2 separate regions of the Homo sapiens genome follow, and region 2 is linked to region 1. Evidence: promoter capture Hi-C in 16 types of primary human blood cells and fetal thymus (Javierre and others, 2016). All regions are on one chromosome and are shown on one strand. Each heading gives the region's core, a stretch centred on a gene start or on the middle of the fragment in contact. The rest is flanking DNA. Distances are from core to core; before and after follow the strand shown.

Evidence for each region. The method cuts DNA at HindIII sites, captures the fragments that hold promoters and counts their contacts. A CHiCAGO score of 5 or more calls a contact.
Region 2: a fragment that was not itself captured here is called in contact with the fragment with the promoter of PPP1R17 in region 1 in 1 of 17 cell types (neutrophils); the score reaches 7.7 in neutrophils.

What each region holds. Positions count from the first base shown.
Region 1 is chr7:31,683,875-31,690,010 of GRCh38, reverse strand. It overlaps PPP1R17 (protein phosphatase 1 regulatory subunit 17), which reads right to left and starts at 2,796. Exons shown (of 5, transcript NM_006658.5): 1 at 2,705-2,796. It also overlaps a transcript of PDE1C not described here. The HindIII fragment of the contact is 9,056 bases long and covers 1-5,657 here.
Region 2 is chr7:32,235,742-32,241,877 of GRCh38, reverse strand. It overlaps a transcript of PDE1C not described here. Among named protein-coding and RNA genes, the nearest start is that of PDE1C, 170 kb to the right of the region's middle. The HindIII fragment of the contact is 1,052 bases long and covers 2,283-3,334 here.

The DNA of each region.
Region 1 (6,136 bases), core at 1,547-4,046:
AACTGACACATGCTTCCTCCACAGCATAGCTCATCTTGTCTATGGGAGAAACAACACTATTTCAAATCAGTGTGATTTAAAGAATGGTGGTGGTGAACCAGCAAGACTGTTTGCTAAGGGGCTGAGAGACAATTTCCAGATCTGGGATTTTACATTACAAGAATATCCCATGCCGTGCAGGGATGTGTTTTGCTCATGGGGTTAGAAGATACTTTTATCATGAATGATGTCATTACGGACTTCTTAGGAGAAAATTTTCACACAAAGAAAAGAACAAGCAAGTGGAGGGGAAAGACATTTGGAGTTTAGTGTTGGCTTATTGATAATTTTCATAGCCTGTTAGTATAATGACCCCATCTCTCAACTCACTCTCCATTTCTATCCTCAGTGAGAAGGGGCGCTCTTTATGAGTGAGCTGTTTTAAGACATGAGCCGGTCTAATTCTTGACATAGGAAATGGAATATTTCCATTTCCTATTCCTGACTCTACCCACGCCTTCCTCTCTTTAATTCAGTCTCTACCCCAAGCAGGTGTCATAAAGGGATGCTGCACTTGTTGGGCTGCCCAGGGAAGGTTTCATCATCTCCCTGTAACTTGGGAACTTTCTAAGGCACCAGCTCTTTCTTTCATGCCTGCATAGTTGGTCCTCTGCATCTTCAGAATTCAACCAAAAAGCTAGGGCCTCCAGAGAGGCTTGTTGTCTAATACTTCACATTTGGGGGTGTTTTCATAAACTGTGTCTACTACAAAGACTTGTGACCTTTTTAACATCCTCTTTCCACTTATTGGTTCAGTGTGGGCTCTGAATTCTAACACTCACACAGGGACGTGGACTGCCACTGTCATTGCAATATTGGCCACCCACCCTTGTGACAAGCCTGGAGTCAAACGTGCTGTGGAAATCAGGACTGTTTAAATTATATAACAGCTCTAGAGGGGTCTCAAGGAGCACCAGCAGTCACATCCATTATTTCTGCAGCAAAACTATGAATATTCACACTAAGTGACATAAAGACAAACCACAAAAAATTCACATTCTTTCAGGTCAGGCTTTGCTACCAAATGAGTTTGTGTTGAACTTAACAACAAACCTTTTGGTTTTCAAAATGTTTCAGATTTCTTAATTAGAGAATGAAAGAGTATTGATCGAATTACTCTTCTGGTTGTGGTTGTTTGACAGAATGTAGGTATTCAGTGTAGTATGCAAGAGACCAAGAGATATGATTTCAGGGTTTGAGAAAGGATTTCAGGATTTCAGATTTTAAACTCTTGTAACTTCCTCTTACTAATCCTTACCTTCCTTTTCACAAGGGACAAAACCTTTCTTTTTACAGAGAGATACTTGTAAATGCAAATACCACTAAGAGCAGCAATATGTAAATTGATGTCACAATACACAGGGATTGTTAATGACAAAGGTCACCTTCTCTTTTGAGAACAGGAACTGAAAGGGGGAAGGAACTGGGTGCCAGAAAAGGGACCCCACTATATTGCAGAAAGGCAGGCACACCAGCGGAGCTGAAACACATTAGTTGGTTCAGTGTGTGGTCAGAAGCTGGTCTGGATTTTTTGTCTTTTCTCTTATCATTGAGCGGTTTTCTCAGTTGGATGTGAGAATATGCGGTTTAAATTATGGGAAGAAAATTCCTCTCAACTTTAAGATTGGATGCTGTGAGTCAATATAAGGTAGAAGCCAACGTTTGGCTGCTTGTACCACTCTCTAGCTGGGTGAACTTGGGACAGTTATCTGTTCTCTCAAAAATTTAGTTTTCAAATCTGTTAAATGGGGGAAGATAGTGGCTCTTCTCCAGGGTTGTTGAGAGTATTACCCATAGAATGTGCATGGAGTCCCGAGCCCAGGTCCTACACACTGATATTTTCGTGAGTGTGAGGGACCTTCTTGGATCTTTCAGTCCTCCATTTGTGATTATATGTCTATCTAAATTGATCTATCAGAATTATCTCTTTATCCCATCTCTGGCCTTCTCTGAAGCTGGTAATGAGATGAGAATAGTTCAAGACAAAAACCAACCCATTTCTAAATCTTGGGAACATAATAGAACTGATTCTCAGAAGCGAGTTGACACTTAGCTTACCATACGGTATTCTGAAGAATATCCCCCAAAGTAATCAGGTCTTGATTTACTGGATGGAATAAAAGGGTAGAAGGTTGTATCCACAGCCTATGTGGTATCTCGTTAATGCACCCTCTGGCTATGTAAAATACATATTCATTGTCAAACCTCTTTTTAACCAGAGGATTGAATTCAGGTCAAAAAGTACCGTCTTTTAAAATCAGATTTGTTCATTTAGAAAACCTAAATTGGCAGTATTCCTGGAGGAGAGACTGACTTAAAGTAGGGCATGGAGAATGTGTTTTGAGAAGCATACTTTCTGTACTTTCCCCAGCCTTGGAAGATAAACCTCTCTATCCTGTGTGAATATGCAGATACACCAACTTCATCTTGAAACTTTGCAAATGAGTTTGTGAGGGTTCAGTCTTTTACAGAACTCCATTCCCTCCCTTGGAAGAATGACTTGAAAGTGGTAACTTTTTCTGCTGTCCACTCGGCCCCAGCTTAGCCTTGCTCCATAAAGCACAACCCCGTGCCACCAGCTACAGCCTTCTTTGTCCCAGTAACTGACTGGAAACTTGCTTTTCTCACCACAAAAGTTCTTGGAGTAAAAATCTGAAGCACTTACCAATCAGCGCAGATGCAGGGAAGCGAAGGCGAGAGACAGGGAGGGCGTGTGTGCTCACCGAGGCTGGGCCTGGCTCCTCTGCGGCAGTGGCTGCTGCTGGCCGGCTCCAGCTCCTCTTATCTAGGGACCAGCTGCTGCTGTTGCCATGGGGATGCTCTGTTTCACAGGCACCAGGGCAAGGGGGATGGAGAAGGAAAGAGGACTAACATCTCCATCGCTGCTCTCCACGGCAATCATTGTACATTACAAAAGTACAGTATAGAGTCGTGCTTTGAGTTTCCGGTGTGCACACCAGAGAAATTCAGACAAACCAGCTACATCATTGAATTCCCATGCGATAGATTTTTTTTGGCCTGATTTTGTAAATATGGAAACTGAGGCACAAGAAGTTAAGTGATATGCCCAAGAGAGGCCACAGCTAATTTCGACTCTCAAAGCTATTTAAGTTTAAATCCAGAGTACTTTCAATCACTATTGCTGCTTCTCAAAGTACTATCATGAGGAGGAAGAGAAGGGTAGCTACTGCTAACATTTATGTAAGGCTACCAAAATGCCAGACACTCTTCTAGAGACTTCACACATATCTACTTACTTAACCCTCAGGCCAACCTTGTGAGATGAGCTACAGTCATCATCCCATTTTATTGATGAGGAAGCTGGGGCTCAAGAGTTACCAAATCATCTGACCAAGGTCTCCCCACATGGTGAAGCTAGGGTTTGAATGGGGTAATGAAATGCTAGGGTCCACGCTTGTAACCACTTTGCAATACCTCTCAGCAAAGAGAGCATTTCAAACAGCACATAGCAAAGAAAGCAGCCCCCAACTCTATAGGTTATAGTGTGCAGGCCAGAAAAAATTTCCTCCTTCAAAGGAACAAAGCCAAATGTACCAATATTAGGAATACGTAGGCACTCAAGAGTGGATGTTTAAGCAAGGTGGGAGAGGCGGGAGACATGCTGTCTTTTGGAGAGGAAGGTTCTATGTTTTGGGTCTGCTCACTGGAGGAGAGCCCACTGGGGTTTGGAGGAGCAGCAGTTTTGACTCCAAAGCAGGAAGGCCAGTCTGGGAGATCAGGTAGGTATCAGGACCCACTAGAAGGGCTCCAGACCCCCTGATAGCAGCCAATGGACCACCCAGTGATGCCCAAGAAATATGTTCTCACAGAAGATACGTGAGCACCATCCACACATCCATATTTTTTCCAGTCTTACCTGAGGTTCCCTGCAGAGCAGGTCCCTGGCAACCCCTTGGTTTCAACTGCCTGCTTGCCACTGGCAATGTGTTTGTTGGTGCCTCCCTCCCACTTGCCAGGATCCCAAATAACAGGGCTAGAACCATAGTAAACTCACCAAGAGGTTGACTCCTAGGGTTAGACTTTTGCCATGGTAACAGATAAGCAGAGAATGGACTTCTTTGCCTGTTCCATTTTGTGTTGATCCTTATTGGGACCTCCTGGGAAGAGATGAGGGTTGCTGAAAGGTGATGCTCTTGTCTAGGAAGGGAAGGCCCTAGATGTTGAGGGACAGGGCCTAGAAGCAGGTCTGTGTTCAAAACTGCCTGCTTTATCTTCTTCATTTTTTAAATTTTATTTTATTTTCAGTGCTGGGACACATGTGCAGGACGTGCAGGTTTGTTACATAGGTAAACGTGTGCCATGGTGGTTTGCTGGACCTATCAACCCATCACCTAGGCATTAAACCCTGCCTTACTTTATCTTCTTAACAACAGCCTTGTTGGCCAATGAGTTAGCAGCATCTTCAGTCCACACTTGAGTGGAAAAGATATACTTTCCTTCTGAAATCCTTGAATTCTTCTTTTGAATTAAACTGTTTTGAGGTAATAGATCTACATGTCGTTGTGAGGGATAATACAGGGAGATCTCCTATACGTAAGCAGTTATATCCAATGGTAACATCTTATGAAACTATCCTACAATATCAAAACCAGTATGTTGATATTTACATGAATATATACAGAACATTTCTGTCACCACAAGCCTCCCTTATCTTGCCGTTATATAGCCATGCCCCCCTCCGTTCCTTCCTAACCTCCTGCTCCCAATCACTTTTTAAACTCGGCAACCATGAATCTATTCTCCATTTCTATAATTTTGTCAATTCAAGAATGTTTTAATAATGGAATAATACAGTAGGTAGCCTTTTGGGTTTGGCTTTTTTTTTTTCACTCAGCATTATTCCCTAGAGATCCATTCAGGTTGTTGTGTGTGTCAATAATTTGTTCTTTGTCATTGCTGAATAGTATTCCATAGAATGGACCACAGTTGGTGTGACATCTTGTATATACACCTGGATTGTTACCAATGTTTGGCTATTACAAATAAAGCTGCTATGAACATTCATGTAGAGAGGCTTTTGCGTGAACATAATTTTTAATTTCTCTGGGATAATGCCCAGAAGAGTAATTACTGACAATTGCATGTTTCCTTTTACAATAACACCAAAGCGGCTGTAGCATTTCCCATTCCCACCAGCAATGTACGAAGGGTCCAGTTTCTCTGTATCTTCACCAGAATTTGGTGTTGCCAGTATTTTTAAAAAGCCATTCTCAGAGGTAGGTTCAGTAGTAATATCTCGTCATGGTTTTAATTTGCATTCTGTGCATGACTAATTATGCTAAACATTTTTTCATGTGCTTATTTGTCATCTGCGTAGTTTCTCTGGTGAAATGTTACTTCATGTCTCTTGTCTACCTTCTAATGGGACTTTTTATATTACTGTTGAGTTTTGAACTGGATCCTAGATATTCCAGATACTAGTTCTTTATTAGAAATATGGGTTGCAAATACTTTCTCCCAGTTTGCTGTTTGTATTTTTAATCTTTTCATGGAGTCTTTCACAAAGCATAGCTTTTAAATTTTTATAAAGTCCAATTCATCATTAATGAATTTTAAAATATATAATTTAGATTTTTCTGAGGCTCTTTGGAGAAGCTTAATTGTGTTAAGCATATTCCAGCCTGTAGATTTTAACAAATCCTTTTGTCACTTAATTTCCACAGTTCAAAGGGAATATTTTCAAAGACAGAAGAGTATGAATCCCTGATTTCCCCTTTGAATAGACATGTCTACTACTCCCAAGTTCGGGCTGTTGTTGCTGTTGCTGATTTTTCCCAGGGCTTCGTACATACTCTTTAATTGATTATGCCCCTCCCCCTTTTAAGGCAGATGTAAACAGCAACTGACAGGGCAGATGGTAATGTAAATCTATACCTTGGAGAGTTCTAAATAACAACCACATATGTGCAGTGCTGAAGTCATAGACCCTCAGCCTACAGCGCTCCCAGCATAAGTGCAAGGAGCCGTTGTGTCCATGGCATGATTTGTAGTCCAAGAGCCCTTTGATGTATGGCTGAATTCACTTGTGCCTTCATTCCTGATGGATGCCTGATGGTAACTAGCTTTAAATGAATAT
Region 2 (6,136 bases), core at 1,559-4,058, 550 kb before region 1:
CTCTGCATTTGTTTCCATCACTTGCTGTGTCTACCCATCTCCTCTCTGTGGATACAGCAGATAGGCGGTGGCTGAGGCTAGCATCCTTACTGGTGAAATGGATCCTATCTTCTCTCACCTTCTCAGGAACTTTGCTTGCAAGTGCTGCCCCCCCACTGCATGACTGATTATTCATTTTCCACTGGATTATTCTTACCCACATGCATATATGCTCTAATGGCCTCCATTTTTAAAAAGAAACCATGTATTGACATAACCGTCTCCTCTAGTGATTGCCCCATTTCTTAGATATCTTTTGTAGAAAAATTTCTTAACATAATTTTTTTTTACATGGAGACTCAGTTTTCTCTCTTCAGTCTACACCAGTCCTGCACCCCACCACAACTCCAATGGCATTGCTTTTGTCAGGATCACCCAATACCTCCACATTGGCCAAATCCAGAAGCCATCATATTTGACACCCTGCAGCATTTGACATGGTTGGCCACTCCCTCCTTCTTAAAACATCTTCTTCACTTGGGTATGAGGTACAACTCTTGGTTCTTCTTCAGTGGAGGCTCCTTCTAGGTTGGCTGTGCTGCGTCAAGGTTAATTCCTTGGGTGGCTTCTCTATCTACATTTATGTTGTAAGTGAGCTAATTCAGTCCATGGCTTAAATACCAGCTGCAGGCTGACTACTGTAGCCTGAACTTTTCCCCTGAACTCCAGGCTCATGTATCTAATTGACTATTTGATGCCACCATTTGGAATTCTAATAGGACTCTCAGACAGAACATAGATAAACCAAATTGGTCCGGCCCTCTCCCCCAACTTGCCCTTCCTCCAGTCTTTTCTACTCAGATAATGGCATCTCCGTTCTTGCAGTTGCTCAGGCCAATGCTTTACAGTCATCCTTGACCTGCCTCTTTCCTCATACTACATATCCAACCCAACCACAGATTCTGTTGTCCCACCCATAATCCTGAAGTGGATCATGTCTCACCACCTTCAGCTCTCCTTTTTGACCAAATCGCTATTTTCTCTTGACTGAATCTTGTATTAGCCTCCCAAGTGGTCTCCCTGCTTCCACCCACCAATTCTTAAAGATTCTTGCCACAGCAGCCAGAATGACCCTTTAAAAACATGTCAGGTCATATCCCTGCTCTGCTCCAAACCCCCTGGTGGCCTTCTATGGTCTGGAGGACCCCATCTTGTCTTGTTCCTAGCTCTCTCATTCAGCTCCAGACACAAGAGTCCTCACCTTTTTTAGTAAAATTTTTGCCCCTTACTGTCTCTCCTCCCTCTCCTAAATCCCTGCATTCTTTTCACCAGCTCAGATGTTTCTGTGTCAGAGACTTTGTTGACCACACTGTTTAAAATAATACTTTCCTCCTCTCTATACCCTTAACCCTGCTTTATTTTTTATCATAGTAAACAACACCATCTGACATATTAAATATGTATCTGTTTGTTTTCTGCCTTTCCTCTTGTAAGCTCTGCAAAATCTGGGACTTACCATTTTGTTCACTGTTGAATCCCTAGCACATGGAAGAGTGCCTAGCATATAGTAAGCCCTCAGTTAATATTTGTAGAATGGAGGCATGTATGTCTTATATTTAATCCAGATAATCATTCATTACCATAAACTGTTCTTTAAAAATTATGAAATATTTTATATCCACAAAGTACAGTGAATAATATAATGTGCATACACCTACCCTCCACCCAGTTAAAGGAATAAAAGGTAACTCTCAGAATGGGCTAGCTTATGCTGCCGTAACAAACAGCTTTCACATGTAAGTGGCTTAAAACAAACAAACAACAAAAAATCCACACAAACAAACCTCTAACTCATGGTGCATGCCTATACATGGGGTGGCAGGGGGCCCAATTCAGGATCCAGGCTGACAGCATTGTTGTCAGTCACTGAGAGATTGTGACAAAAGGAAAGAGAGATGCTGAATTGCATGCTGGCTCTTAAAGGTTTCCATCTACAAGTGACATCTCTGCATACATTTCCTTGGCAGAAGCAAATCACATATACTTGCCTAGCTTAAAGGTGTGAGGAAGAACAATCCTACCATGTGCCTAAAAGGAGTGGAACCTAAATGTTTGTGAATGGTTCTAGTGATTGTCACAATTACAAATATAGTCAGAGCTCTCTGTGACCTACTTTCTGGTCTCATTTCTCTCCCTGTCCTCTAAAGAACATTGCTATACTTAATTTGATGCTATTTCATTGTGGTTTTAGTTTTTCATTTTCCTGATTATTAGTAAAGTAAAGTTGAGCATTTAAAAAAGCTTATTATCCATTTTAGTTTCCACTTTTGTGAGTTGCCTGTTTATCTACTTTATCTAATTTTAAAAAGTATTACATTATTTGTTGCTTTGTATTGACTTACAGGGTTCTTTTTGTATTTTGTATACTAGTATTTTGTTGGTTATAAATATATTCTTCTGCTCTCTGGTTTGTATTGCACTTTGTTTATGGATTTTCTTTTTTAAAGAAACAGAGTCTCCTTCTGTCTTTTGGGCTGGAGTGTAATAGTGCAATCATAGCTCATTGCAACCCAGAACTCCTAGGTTCAAGCAATCCTCTCATCTCAGCCTCCTGAGTAGCTAGTATGAGCACACACCATCACGCTTGGCTATATATATTTTTTTTCTAGAGACAGGGTCTCACTCTGTCACCCATATTAGAGTGCAGTGGCACAATCATGACTCACTGCAGACTCAACTCCTGAGCTGAGCACAAGCGATCCTTCCACCTCAGCCTTATGTTTTTAAAATGTTTTGTGAAGATAGGGTTTTGCTACATTGCTCAGGCTGGTCTCAAACCCCTGGCCTCAAGCAATTCTGCTGCCTTGGCCTCCCAAAGTGCTGGTATTACAGGCATGAGCTACTATGCCCAGTCTGCTTATCTTCTGAAACAGATGTTTTAAAACACTTTGTTGTTGCTTGTCAATCCTTTCCTTTATGGTCTGAGTCCTTTCATACCCTGAGGAAATAACATTTCCCAGTTCATGTTTAGGTCTTTATTCTTCCTGAATTGAAAGATGTAAATGGTGTGAATTAGGACTTTATTTTTCCCCAATATGGATAACTAACAGTTCCAGCATCTACTAATTTGTAACTTGTTCTATATCAAGTTTTCATATAGCAAACATTTTAGAACTCTATTTCATTCCATTAGTCTGTCTACTCCTGGGCCAATAAAAACATTGTCTTAATGGTTTCATAATTAAGTGCTAATATCTGATAGAATGAACATTATCCTTCCTCCCACCTCTGTTTTTCAAGATTGCTTTGGCTATATTTGGACCATTGTTCTGCCTTACAAATTTTAGAACAAGCTTGTCAAGTTCCATGAAAAACCTTTGTTGGAATTTTGATTTATTTATTCAACAGCAGTTATATCTCACTTATTATATGTCAAGCACTGTTCTAAATGCTTTACAAACACTTAGTTAAAATATATAACTTTATTTGGAGAGAACTGACATCTTTATGCTGTTGTCTTCCTATTCATGAAGAGGATCAATATCTGATCTTCTTTACTATCTTTTAATAAAATTTTATAAGTTTCTTCATAATGGTTTTGATGCATTAGCTAGATTTATTCCTTGGCACTTTATAAATTCGTATTGCCATTGTAGAAGATGTCATTTGAAAAGTTATACTTTCTAATTGTACATTGGTGGTGTAAAGGAACACAATATAGATTTTTGTTATTAGCCTTAGATCCAGCAACTTTGCTTAACTCTCTTATTAATTCTAATGATTTGTCTGTGGATTGTCTTGGATTTCCTAGGTAAAACTTATAACCTTTGGCCAGGTGTGGTGGTTTACGCCTGCAATCCCAGCACTTTGGGAGGCCGAGGTGGGCGGATCACCTGAGATCGGGAGTTCAAGACCAGCCTGACCAACATGGAGAAACCCCATCTCTACTAAAAATACAAAATTAGCCGGGCATGGTGGCACATGCCTGTAATCCCAGCTACTCAGGAGGCTGAGGCAGGAGAATTGCTTGAACCCAGGAGGCGGAGGCTGCAGTGAACCGAGATCATGCCATTGCACTACAGCCTGGGCAACAAGAGCGAGACTCTGTCTAAAAAAAAAAAAAAAAAAAAAAAAAGTATATATATATATATATATACACAGAGCCAAGTGCGGATAGTGGCTATCCTTATTTCATTATTGACCTTAAAGGGAATTCTCATGTTCACCTCTTAGAAGAATGCTTGGTAGGTGTCTAGTAGATTCTCTTGATCAGAAGTTTTCTCCTATTTTTAGTTTGCTGAGATTTTTTTTGCCTCAAATTTTATTTTTTAAATTAATGTAGAATTATTTTTGGCATACAGTTCAGTAAGTTTTAACATATTTAAATTCATATGTGTACCACCAGAGTAAGAGTATGGAGTAGTTCCATTACCCAAAAGAAACTCCATTGTGTAATCCTTTTATAATCAAACTCCCTCCCAATCCCTAGCCCGTGGCAACTACAGATCTGTTCTCTGACATTATAATTTTATTATTTTTAAGAATATTACATGAATAGCCGAGATGGGCGGATCACGAGGTCAGGAGATCGAGACCATCCTAGCTAACGCTGTGAAACCCTGTCTCTATTAAAAATACAAAAAAATTAGCCGGGCGTGGTGGTAGGCGCCTATAGTCCCGGATACTCAGGAGGCTGAGGCAGGAAAATGGCGTGAACCTGGGTGGTAGAACTTGCAGTGAGCCGAGATCGCGCCACTGCACTCCAGCCTGGGCGACAGAGCGAGACTCCATCTTAAAAAAAAAAAAAAAAAAAAAGAATATTACATGAATAGATTCATGCAGTATGTAACCTTTTGAGACTGACTTTTTTTTGACTCAGAATAATGCCTACAAGATCCATTCCAGATGTTGCATGTATCAGTAGCTTTCTCCTTTGTATGGCTGAGTAGTAGTATTCCACTGTATGGGTGTACCACAGTTTGTTTATCTATTCACCCACTGAAGGGCATTTGGGTTGTTTCCAGTTTTTGGTGATTATGAATAGAGCTGCCATAAACGTTTGTGTACAGCTTTTTGTGTGATTATAAATTTTCATTTCTTTAGGATAAAAACTTGTATTAGGTGGATGTTTAACTTTATAAGAAACTGTAAAGCTGTTTTCCAGAGTGGCTGTACTATTTTGCATTCTTAATAGCAGGAGTTGAGAATTCCAGTTGCTCAGTATTGTCACCAGCACTTGATATCATCAAAATTTTTAATCTTAGCCATCCTATATAGCCTGAGATACAGAGTAGTATCGCACGGTGGTTTTAATTGGCATTTCCTTAATAGATAATGATGTTTAACATCTTTTTATGTGCTTTTTTTGACTACTGTGTATCTTCTATGTAAAATGTCTAAATCTTTTGTCCATCTTTAATTAGGGGCGAATGTTTTCTTCCTATTGAGTTTTGAGAATTTTTTATGTATTCTGAATACAAGTATTTTGTCATATATGTCATTTGCAAATATTTTCTCCCAGGCTATAGCTTGTCTTTTCATCCTGTTAACAGTTTATTTTGCAAAGCAACATCTTAAATTTTGATGCAATCTAGTTTATTTTTTTCTTTTATGGATCTTACTTTTGTTGTCATATTAAGAACACTAAGAATTGAGTGTTCCAATACATGAATGTGGTATGTCTCTCATTTATTTAGGTGGTCTTTAAAGATTTTAAAATAGATTTTATATCTTATATTTAGATCTATGATCTATTTTGAATTGATTTGTTTATAATGTATGAGGTCTAGGTCTAGGTTAATTTTTTTTGGTATATGGATGTTCAATTATTCCAACATCATTTGTGGGACAGACTATTCTTCCTCCATTAAAGTGCTTTGCAATTGTCAAAAATCAATTGGCCATATTTGTGTAAGTCTTTTTCTGGACTTTCTATTCTGTTCTGTTGATTATTTGTCTGTCCCTTTGTTAATACCATACTGTCTTGATTACTGTAGCTTAAGTCTTAAAATAAGGTAGTATGAGCCCTACAACTTTATTCTTCTTTAAAATCATTTTGGCTATTTTAGTTCACTTGCCATTCCACATACATTTCAAAATCAGCTTGCATATATTTACCAAGATTTATGTTAGAAGTTGATCAGAATTGTGTTATATC